Linked DNA regions of Homo sapiens: region 2 is linked to region 1. Evidence: promoter capture Hi-C in human tissues and cell types (Jung and others, 2019). All regions are on one chromosome and are shown on one strand. The core of a region is centred on a gene start or on the middle of the fragment in contact, and the rest is flanking DNA. Distances in the headings are between cores, read along the strand shown.

Evidence for each region. Contacts are between HindIII fragments. The study calls those that stand out against the background at their distance.
Region 2: a contact is called between a fragment that was not itself captured here and the fragment with the promoter of UCP2 in region 1, in 5 of the 25 tissues and cell types used here (H1 embryonic stem cells, IMR-90 fibroblasts, dorsolateral prefrontal cortex and 2 more).

What each region holds. Positions count from the first base shown.
Region 1 is chr11:73,978,119-73,984,093 of GRCh38, forward strand. It overlaps UCP2 (uncoupling protein 2), which reads right to left and starts at 4,725. Exons shown (of 8, transcript NM_003355.3): 1 at 4,603-4,725; 2 at 3,358-3,514; 3 at 135-359. The coding sequence starts at 260. RefSeq lists enhancers at 2,251-2,310, 5,562-5,975 and silencers at 4,636-4,845, 5,146-5,305. The HindIII fragment of the contact is 13,644 bases long and covers 1,209-5,975 here.
Region 2 is chr11:74,112,045-74,117,325 of GRCh38, forward strand. C2CD3 (C2 domain containing 3 centriole elongation regulator) reads right to left here. Exons shown (of 33, transcript NM_001286577.2): 10 at 2,340-2,549; 11 at 1,736-1,848. Among named protein-coding and RNA genes, the nearest start is that of C2CD3, 56 kb to the right of the region's middle. The HindIII fragment of the contact is 4,899 bases long and covers 863-5,281 here.

The DNA of each region.
Region 1 (5,975 bases), core at 3,475-5,974:
CTACAGGGATAAGCATGTTGCCCTTCCCACCTCCAGTCATCTCGATGCTCCAAACACTGGCCCTTGAGGGGTCTGTGTCTTTGGGGAGGGAACAGAGTAGACACCATCAAGACTCCCAGGCTTCATCCCCTCACCTGTAACCGGACTTTAGCAGTATCCAGAGGAAAGGTGATGAGATCTGCGATGCAGGCAGCTGTGCCAGCCCCAAGAAACTTCACAGTGGCAGTAGGGGGCACATCTGTGGCCTTGAACCCAACCATGATGCTGATTTCCTGCTACGTCCCAGGAGATGGAGAAAAACTGGAGACAGGGGCACCTTTAATCAGCAACAAGACGAGATAGAGGAACTCTGCCGGAATCTAAGCCAAGAGGAGAAAAGCCCCATTAGCCACAATGTCCCCAGGCCCTCCCTGCTCACCATCCCCAAACTCACCTTCCCTAATAGAACCAAGTCCCTCAGCAAGACTCCAAGTGGCCTCATGAGGGAAAACCGATGTGAGCTCGAGAGGCACTCAGTTAGGTGCTGGTGAAGCAATTCCTGCTCAAGCAGTCAATACTTCATGAAGGGCTCCCTCCCTTTCACTGCAGGGAGAGTCTGGATCAGAGCTCTCCTAGCGCTGCCTCATAAACAGCCACTGGACCAGCCCTTTGTCTGCTGTATGCAGAGATTTCACTGATGATGCCCACATTCCTGCTTCTGTGGTTCATCTGGAGAGCTGACAGAAGTAGAGAAAAGTTTCACCCAGACTAAGACCCAACAGGCACAGACCCATAGGCTTATGTTCTGGATGTCTAAGCAGGAATGGTTGCTACAGGTCTGGAACTTAAGTCAAGAAGAAAAGGTACAAGATGACTAATTCAATCCCTTCCCAGACCATCAGTCTAATTCTCTCCTCCAGCTCTCACACAGCTTAGGATCTCTAGAGTCATTGTTTTAGCAAGACTGCTTTGCTGGGCAGTGGTTCACTGAGATGCAGGAGATAGTATCTACTCTAGAGGAGGCTTACTGTTGGGCACAGGGGGTGGATGGGCAGATGATTCAAGCTGCATTTGGGGCTTACAGGACATACTCTCAAAATGCAAAGGAGGGAACAACTAATGCCATTGGGAGAGAAGGAAGAGTGGGTGATCAGAAAAGACTTCTTGGGCTGGGTGTGGTGGCTCACGCCTGTAAACCCAGCACTTTGGGAGGCTGAGGCGGGCGAATCACCTGAGGTCAGGAGTTTGAGACCAGCTTGGCCAACATGGCAAAACCCCATCTCCGCTAAAAATACAAAAATGAGCTGGGTGTGTTGGCACACGCCTGTATTCCCAACTACTTAGGAGGCTGAGGCAGGAGAATCACTTGAACCCAGGAGGTGGAGGTTGCAGTAGCTGAGATCGTGCCACTGCACTCCAGCCTAGGCGACAGAGCAAGACTCTGTTTCAAAAAACAGACAAACAAACAAAAAAAAACCTAGCACTTTGGGAGGCAGAGGTGGGAGGACTGCTTGAACCCAGGAGTTCAAGACCAGCCAGGGCAACATAATGAGACCCTGTCTAAAAAATATAAATAAAAATAAATTAGCTGGACATGGTGGTGCAGGCCTATAGTCCCAGCTACTTGGGACGATTGCTTGAGCCCAGGAGGTTGAGGCTGCAGTGAGCTGTGATTGTGCCACTGTGCTCCAGTCTGGGTGAGAGAGTGAGACCTTGTCTCAAAAAAAAAAAAAACAAACCCCAAAAAACCTAAGGACTTCTTAGATAAGGTAACATTTAGCTAGGTGATTTTGGGGGCTGAGAGTAAACTCTGGGGCATTAGACTCCTCCTGGCCTACCATGTGATGCAGAGAAAACTGCTCTCCTTTTTGTTTGGGCCAGTTTCCTTTCCTCCAACTTAGGGGGATCCGCACTTACACCACAAGACAGGCAGGGATGAGGGGTCCAGGTCAGAGCTGTGAAGAGTGATAAAGTAAACCAAAAGCCCCATTTTGTTCTGAGTTGGAACCACACCCTCCTCCACTGCCCCAGGAGGAAGTGAGCCCAGCACCCTAGTGGGGGAGGGTGACCTGCTTCTTCCCCTGAGCTTATTTCTTTGACTTCATTGGAGCAGCTGCTTTGAGCCCCGCCTGACTGCCTTTGTTGCTGGGGCTCAGGTGAAAGGGCTGGCTGGTGAAGGGAGTCAGCTGTGAACACAGAGACCCATGGAAACAAACAGCTCACCCAGCTTCCTCTTGGGCTTCTCACTCCAGGTGGCTGGGGCAAGCAGGGAAATGAAGATACTCACCATAGCAACTACACTGGGACCTATAGAACAGGGCCTGACCTTATTCCTGTTTCCCTCCAGCTTGCCCACGAGGCTCAGTGAAGACTGGTGCTCAAATGACAGATTGGGTTGATGAAGGTGCCCTCGGACTCCCCAGATTCCCTGCTCTGACACCCCCTTCCCCCAGGAGGTGCTCCACAACTTTCCCCACCCCAACGCCCAGGGCACTGTATTAGCTCAATCCTCAGAGCAGCCCTGCAAGGTGGCTGCCCTTATTTCCATGTGAGATGAGTAAGAGCCACACTTACAGGCACCAAAGCTGGTAGTATTTGCTTTGCACTGCTGCCCAGCTCCTCAGTTCGTTCTTGCTGTTTTATCAGCCCCAGGCACAGACAGGGCCTTTCACAAGGAAAGTTCTCACAGGCTGATTAAACAGTACTGAGAAGGCTCAGGCAAATGGTATCCCTTCTCTGGGCATCAGAGATATGATGACATGAGTCTGTCACATTCCTGACCTTGAGCTGGGTTGCAGGATGTTGTGAAGGCCAGAGAAGAATAAGACCCAGCTGCTGCCCAAAGACAAGTGCACAGAGGTTCAGCTGCCATATTCTGAATGTTGCCTTGGGCTTGCCAAGTCAGGTCCTTCAGAGGGTGGGTAAGATGGCCCTACTAACAGCAATTAAAATGCAGGACTAGAAATAGTTAATCCTATTTTACAGTCCCCAGCAAATAACCAGTTTCAGAGCCGGGCTGATTACCAATCTCGGTTTCAGGGATAGTCAAAAGCTAGCATCAATATGAAGTTAGAACAATAGGTTCCTGTCCTAGCTCTTCTGCTGGCTCCCGGGATGACTTGGGGCCAATCACTGTTACACGTGGGCCTCAGTTTTCTCCTTTATAAAATGGGGACCAAGATCCTTGGCTTGTCCGAGTCAGCTGAAGGGCCAGAATGAGAGCGGGGAGGTGTGAGAGTGCTCTGTGAACTGGAAAGAGCCACTTCACTGTCGGGGGTGGGGATGGTAATTATTTTTGTTAATGCCCTGCTGACTCCTGCCCCTAGACCACAGGGTTAGGAGGCAGCAAGAGACCTCTTCCTTGGACTGGACTCTTACCCGGCTTTGTAAGGTCTCACGGTGAGGCCTCCAAGATCAAGCTTCTCTAAAGGTGTCCCGTTCTTCAAAGCTGCCAGTGGCTATCATGGCCCGATCCCCTTGGTTTTCCATAGAAAATGGGTGGGAGACGAAACACCTAATGGTCATACTATGTGTCCTGTGGGTGAGCAAAGGCAGAGAGTTTAGAAAGGGCCACCTGCCCCAAGACACACAAGCCCACCCAATCCATGCCTTGGAGGGGGATGGGGAACAGGGCCCAGGGACTGGTTAAGTGCACACACTGGAAAGGGGAAAAGCAGGGCGGAAAATGAACCTAGGTACACTCCCCACCCCCACCCCACCTGCTTAATATCACAAATTGGTTCTCATCCAGACTTCTGCTTTTGTAACACTCAGTACTCTATATAAGCACCCCCTAGCACAGTCATCAGACTTTGGTGAGTGGGAGAGTTGTGAGGGGGTCACGATGGGACAGAGACTCTCCGGGAATTGGCTAGGTCCCAGGTCGGGCTGTGAGGAGGTTGGAAGGGCTGGGAGCCGGCCCTGCAGAGGCCAGATTGAGCAGCTCAAAGCCCACTAGAAAAAGCCCCCAAGCCCTGGGAAAGGCGGTGCAGGAACACTGCCTGGAGCTGCCTGGTAAGGGAGAGGTCATTGTGGTCATCGCTGATGGTCCCCATCCAAGGCAGGGCTCGGCATCGTGGTGGAAAGGAGGGAGTGAAAAGGTGGAGGCTCAAACGACAGCCAACTGAACGGGAGAGGGAAAGAACAAAAGGGACTAAGAAAAAGAGAGAAGAGAAATAAAGAACCAAGGACAGAAAGGATTAGCACAGGCCGGACCCGGAGGCTCATGCCTAAAATTCTAGGACTTTGTGAGGCCGAGGCGGGCGGATTGCTTGAGCTCAGCAGTTCGAGGCCAGCCTGGCCAACATGGCGAAACCCCATCTCTACAAAACACAAAAATTAGCCAGGCGTGGTGGCGGGCGCCTGTAATCCCAGCTACTCGGCAGGCGGATCGCTTGAACCTGGGAGGTGGAGGCTGCAGTGAGCCGAGATCGCGCCACTGCACTCCAGCCTGGGAGACAGAGCGAAAGCCTGTCTCAAACAAACAAACAAAAACAAAAAATAAAACCGAGAGAAAGAAAAGAGTACAAACTTGGGTGGGAGAGAAGGTAAATGGAAGAGCGGGCAGCGCACGCAGAACAAGCGTGGGGGGCGCAAAGGGCGCAGGGCTGGGGCCAGGCTCACCGAGCCGCAGGGAGAACACGGCAGTGCGTGCGGCTGTGTCTGTCGGCTGGCGGAGGGCGCGTCGGACGAGCCGGGCGAGCGTGGACAGTCAATCCCAAGGCGCGCGCAGCTGGGCTTCGCAGTGGGGCTCCGCGCAGGCGGCGGCGCGGCTTAAGCCTCGGGGGCGGGGCCCGGGGTGGGGCCTGCGGGGCGGGGCCGGGCCTGCCAGCTCCTACTTGGGTGCGGAGACCCTGGAGCAGCCGCCTTTCCGCGGGGACCGCCCCGCCTAGGGTTCTCTCCATGACTTTCTCCACTCCCGTTTCCGTGCGTCCCATCACCGCGTTTACTCCTTCGTTCCCCGAGATGGTCACTCCCTTGCCACTCCCCGCCTCTGCCTCACACTCTCTCGGGCCGCCAACCTCTGTGAGGATGGCAAGACTGACCGCCAGAAACAAGTCTTGTCCAGTCACACACCTCTTGCCTTCCCAGCCAGGACGGTTTCTAACAGCGTCCAGCGGGGCCGTGTCTTAAGTGCACTTCCTCTTTTATGGGCCCAGCCCCCCTACGCTGGGCAAACTACCCACCCTCCTGCGAGCGAGCGCGCGGCTGGCTCCTGCAGGGCGGGACTGGGGCCTCGCGACCGGCCTCGCTGTCGATTGGTTACAGCCGCCGCGTTGTCGGGGGAAGGAACCAATCAGAACTGCAGCAACAGGTGGCCCGGCAACCGACAACAGCCGTTGGGCTCGGCTGGGGTTCGCGCCTTCTCCCCCGGTGGAGCGGCCTGGCGTTTAGGGACCAGGACACTAAAGGCCCCGGCGGGGCGGGAGCACCCAGCGTGACCTCACGCTCCTACACACAGACAAGCAAACGGGCCGGCCCCCGCACGTGACAAGGCAGAGCCGGGCCCAGGCCAGCTGCCTGTCCAGCCCTGGGATGAGAAAAGGCGTCAGGAGATGGACCGGGCCTGGTTCGCCTTTAATTGGCTGACCCGTCCTGTGGGGGTAACTGACGCGTGAACAGCCAACAATTGGGCCCTCTGGCCGGGACAAACACGTGCGTTTGGGGAGTAGAAGAAGGCTGGTATTAACCTCCATTTTACAATGAGGAAACGGAGTCCCAAAGACGTTCAGTCATCTTCCTGATATTCACACACTTACACCCTGGTCAGGCCGGCGCCATATGTGTTTTCACCAGCAGAAGGGACTGCCAGGGAACAGCTGAGGGGACCAGAGCTGGGATGGGCCTGGATAATTATAGCGGAAAGAAAAACACGCCGAGCGCATGGTCCTGGCAGAAGCAGCGTGGAAACAGAAGTCAAGGCAGATTATTTCTGCCATGAGGAGATCTTGCCATGTAGGAAAAAAGAAAGAAAGAGAGGAAAGAAAGACAGAGAG
Region 2 (5,281 bases), core at 2,062-4,561, 130 kb after region 1:
TGTCTGCAAGGATGCAACCGTTCAATTTTGAACCATGTGAATGGATTATCTATTTCAAAAAGGAAACAAAACAAAGCAAAGTAAAAATTTAAAAATCCCGTGTTACTATGCTGTAAAGGAAAAGTTATTTGACTATGTAGTAGGAGTGTTAGGACCACATCTTTTATTTCTCAAACTACTTCCCAGAGAATAAACTTAACACTGATGAACTAACTATTCATAGATCAAACTGGAGAACCAAGGCAAAGCTATCCTCAGAATATATTAGAAAAGTGGCTGTAATTTTGGGTGGCAGGAACATAAATGTCTATTATATTATCCTTTTTCTGTATCTGAAATATTTAAAACAAATTAGAAAAAAAAGACAACACCAAAAGCCTAAGCAACAAAAGAAAAAAAAACAGATAAACTAGAGTACATAAAAATTAAAAACTTTTGTGCTGTAAACAATACCATCTAGAGAGTGAAAGGACAACCCACAGAATGGGAGAAAATATTTGCAAATCATAGATCTGATAAGGGGCTTGTATCTAGGATATACAAAGAACTCTTATAACTCAATAACAAAAAGCCTGATTTGAAAGTGAACAAAGGATCTGAATAGACATTTCTCCAAAGAAGATCTATAAATGGCCAATAAGCACATGAAAAGATGCTTGACATGATTGGCCATCAGGAAAATGCAAATCAAAATCAATGTGATGTCACTTCACATCCACCAGGATGACCAGAATAAAAAAGAATGGAAAGTAACAAGTGTTGACGAGGATGTAGACAAATTAGAACCTTCATATACTGCTAGTGGGAAAATGGTGCAGCCACTGTTGAAAACAGTCTGGCAGTTCTTGAAAAAGTTAAAACATAAAGTTACCATATGACCCAGCAATTCTACCATTAGATATATACCCAAGGGAAATGAAAGCACACAGTCCATACAAAACCACGTACACAAATGTTCACATAGCAGCATTATGCAAAATTGCCAGGAAGTGGAAATAACACGAATGTCCAGCAACTGAGAAAAGGATAAATGAAATGTGGTATATCTATGCAATGGAGTATTACTCAGCCATAGAAAGGAATGAAGTACTGATATATACTATAACATGAAACTTAAAAATATTATGGTAAGTCAAAGACAGTAGTCACAAAAATCACAAGTTGCATGATTCCATTTATATGAGACATCCAGAATGGACAAATTGATAGGGAAAGAAAGATTAGCAGTTGCTTAGGGCTGGGGGAAGAGGGAAATGCGAAGCGAATGCTAGTAAGTATGGGGTTTCTTTTAGGGGGGATGAAAATGTTCTAAAATTAGATTGTGGTGATGGTTGCACAGCCTTGAAAATATTGGCTGGGCGTGATGGCTTATGCCTGTAATCCCAGCACTTTGGGAGGCCGAGGCAGGCGGATCACTTAAGGTCAGGGGTTTGAGACCACCCTGGCCAACATGGTGAAACCCTGTCTCTACTAAAAAATACAAAAATTAGCTGGGTGTGGTGGCATACGCCTGTAATCCCAGCTACTCAGGAGGCTGAGATGGGAGAATCACTTGAACCCGGGAGGTGGAGGCTGCAGTGAGCAGAGATTGCGCCACCACACTCCAGCCTGGGCGAAAGAGTGAGACTCCATGTCAAAAAAAAAAAAAAAAAAAAAGTCAAATGAGTAATTAGGAATTCAAAAATTCTTCCAAAGTCAGAATGTCTAAGGTGCAGAAAACCAGTGTGTCTCTTACTTCCATCTGTAATTTTACTGGAGGCGAGTCGAACAACCTCAGTGATCAAAGCTGTCTTTCCCAATCCGCTTTCCGAAAAGCCCACAGGAAAGTGATATTCTACAAAGAAAGTGCTAAAAAGAAAAAAAAAGTGATTAAAAACTAACCAAACAATAAACCTAATTTCCGTCTGATAAATCCAACATATATTTGAAATCTTACTTTCAGGACCTCTAGTACTCAGAGGCCCTACCTCTTCTTCAAAGCCTTCCACCAACCCTGTCTGAGAGAATCAAAGGCTCCCTTTCTTGTGTTCCCACAGCAATTTTAATACAAAACATCTATTTTGGGCCCTAAAGCTTTATGTTATAGATAGCCATTTAAATGTTTCTCTCTCCTGCTAACTGTAAGATATGTAAGAACAGAGTCTGTATCTTAATTTTCTTTAGTCCCATACTTACTTACACAGTTCTTGGGATATAGCAGGGATTCAATATATTTCTGTAGATTAAATGATGCATATGAAAACACATCCCAAATCACAGTATTATGCAATTGTTGATTATTACCATCAGACACACTTTCCAAAAATGTCAAATTTAGCTTTCTCATGTTAGAGACATACCGCTTTTTTGCTGTAGTCACCTTAGGTGGTGGACCAGCATAGCTTTTTTTGCCAGGGGTCATCTGAGGACTATCTGGAGGAACTCCCATGGTTTCGATGATGATTCTGACTGAATGTGTTCTACCCAAAAGGGCCAGTCTATCCACACTTAGTGTCATCGTTTGGGCATCTTCTGGAGTTTCTGAGAGCATCTGTTGTTCAACCAAATTTCTGAAAGGAGTTCACACAAGCAGTGAGGCATACTGCTACAGGCTTCACATGAAACAATCTAGTTTGCACAGGCAAGATGAGGAAAAAGGGAGGGCAGCAAGTTTTTATTTTTTTATTTTTATTTTTGACACAGGGTGTTGCTCTGTCACCCAGGCTGGAGTGCAGTGGCACGATCATGGCTTACTGCAGCCTTGACCTCCTGGGCTCAAATGATCCTCCCACCTCAACTTCCCAAGTAGCTGGGACCACAAGCATGGGTCATCACACTTGGCTAATTTTTGTATTTTTTGTAGAGATGAGATATTACTATGTTGCCCAGGCTGGTCTTGAACTCCCGGACTCAAGCAATCCTCCTGCCTCAGCCTCCCAAAGTGCTGGGATTACAGGTGTGAACAACCACACCCAGCCAAGTATCTTGACTCACAAGTTATCAAGGATTGGAAACAGCTTTTATTATCAGAATTCTGGTCCTATAGTACAAGAAATCTCAAAAAATGTAAAAAAAAAATATAATCTAAAGGTTTGAGAGTGTATATTCAGGGTAATTTGAATCTATGCTCCCAGGTAAAAAAAAAATTTAAAAATACTATATAGATATATACACACACACACACACATACATACATATATATATACATACATATATATACACACACTTATACACACACAACATATATACACACACATACATTATACAATACATATGAGTACAGAAACTGAAACTCCAAATTTAGGTTTTTCTAGAAGGGACACAGACCTTATTTCAGTTACCCACTATTCTAATGTAACTACTATTGTCACTTTTGTGTATTCCTTCTCATTTGCTTTCCTTATGCATATTTTCTACACAGTTGTGATCACAGTACACATACAACCTAGAATTCTGCTTTCTTCCTTAACCATTTAAATTATACCTATCTTGGTAGAATCAAAAATATGAAAACGACCATACTGCCAAAAGCAATCTACAAATTCAGTGCAATTCCCATCAAAATACCCTCATCATTCTTCACAGAACTAGGAAAAAAAATGTTAAAATTCATATGGAACCAAAAAAGAGCCCACATAGCCAAAGCAAGATTAAGCAAAAAGAACAAATCTGGAGGCATCACATTACCTGACTTCAAACTATACTATAAGGCCACAGTCACCAAAACAGCATGGTATTGGTATAAAAATAGACACATAGACCAATGGAACAGAATAGAGAATCCAGAAATAAAGCCAAATACTTATAGCCAACTGATCTTCAACAAAGCAAACAAAAACATAAAGTGGTGAAAGGACACCCTATTCAACAAATGGTGCTGGGACAATTGGCAAGCCACATGTAGAAGAATGAAACTGGATGTTCATCTCTCACCTTATAAAACTATCGACTCAAGATGGATCAAGGACTTAAATCTAAGACCTCAAATCATAAAAATTCTAGAAGATAACAATGGAACAACCCTTCTAGACATGGTTTAGACAAAGACTTCATATCCAAGAACCCAAAAGCAAATGCAACAAAAACAAAGATAAATAGATGGGACTTAATTAAACTAAAAAGCTTCTGCACAGCAAAAGAAACAGTCGGCAGAGTAAACAGACAACCCACAGAATGGGAGAAAATCTTCACAATCTATACATCTGACAAAGGACTAATATCCAGAATCTATAAGGAATGCAAACAAATTAGCAAGAAAAAATCAAACAATCCCATCAAAAAGTGGTCTAAGGACATGAATAAACAATTCTCAAAAGAAGATATACAAATGGCCAACAAACGTATGAAAATATGCTCAACATCACTAATGATCAGGGAAATGCAAATCAAAACCACAATGCGATACCACTTTACTCCTGCAAGAATGGCCATAATAAAAAATTAAAAAAAAAAAGAATGTTGGTGAGGATGTGGTGAAAAGGGAACACTATTACACTGCTGGTGGGAATGTAAACTAGTACAACTACCATGGAAAACAGTGTGGACATTCCTTAAAGAACTAAAAGTAGAACTACCATTTGACCCAGCAATCCTACTTCTAGGTATCTACCCAGAGGAAAAGAAGTCACTATATGAAAAAGATACTTGTACTTGCATGCTTATAGCAGCACAATTTGCAATTGCAAAAATATGGAACCAGCCTAAATGCCCATCAATCAATGAATGGATAAAGAAATTGTGGTATACATATATGTGTGTATATATATACACACACACACGTATATATATACACACACATATATACGTGTGTGTATATATACACGTGTATATGTGTATATACACGTGTATATGTATATATACACACGTGTATATATACACACGTGTATGTATATATACATATACACGTGTATATACACATATACACGTATATATGTGTATATACACATATACACGTATATATACACATATACGTGTATATGTATATATACACATATATACGTGTATATGTATATATACGTGTGTGTGTATATATATATGAATATATATATATGAATATATATATGAATATATATATATGAATATATATATATGAATATATATATATGAATATATATATATGAATATATATATATGAATATATATATATGAATATATATATATGAATATATATATATGAATATATATATATGAATATATATATATGAATATATATATATGAGTGAGCTGTGATTGTGCCACTGCACTCCAGCCTGGGCAACATAGTGAGACCCCGTCTCAAAAAAAAAAAAGTAGTCTACCCAAA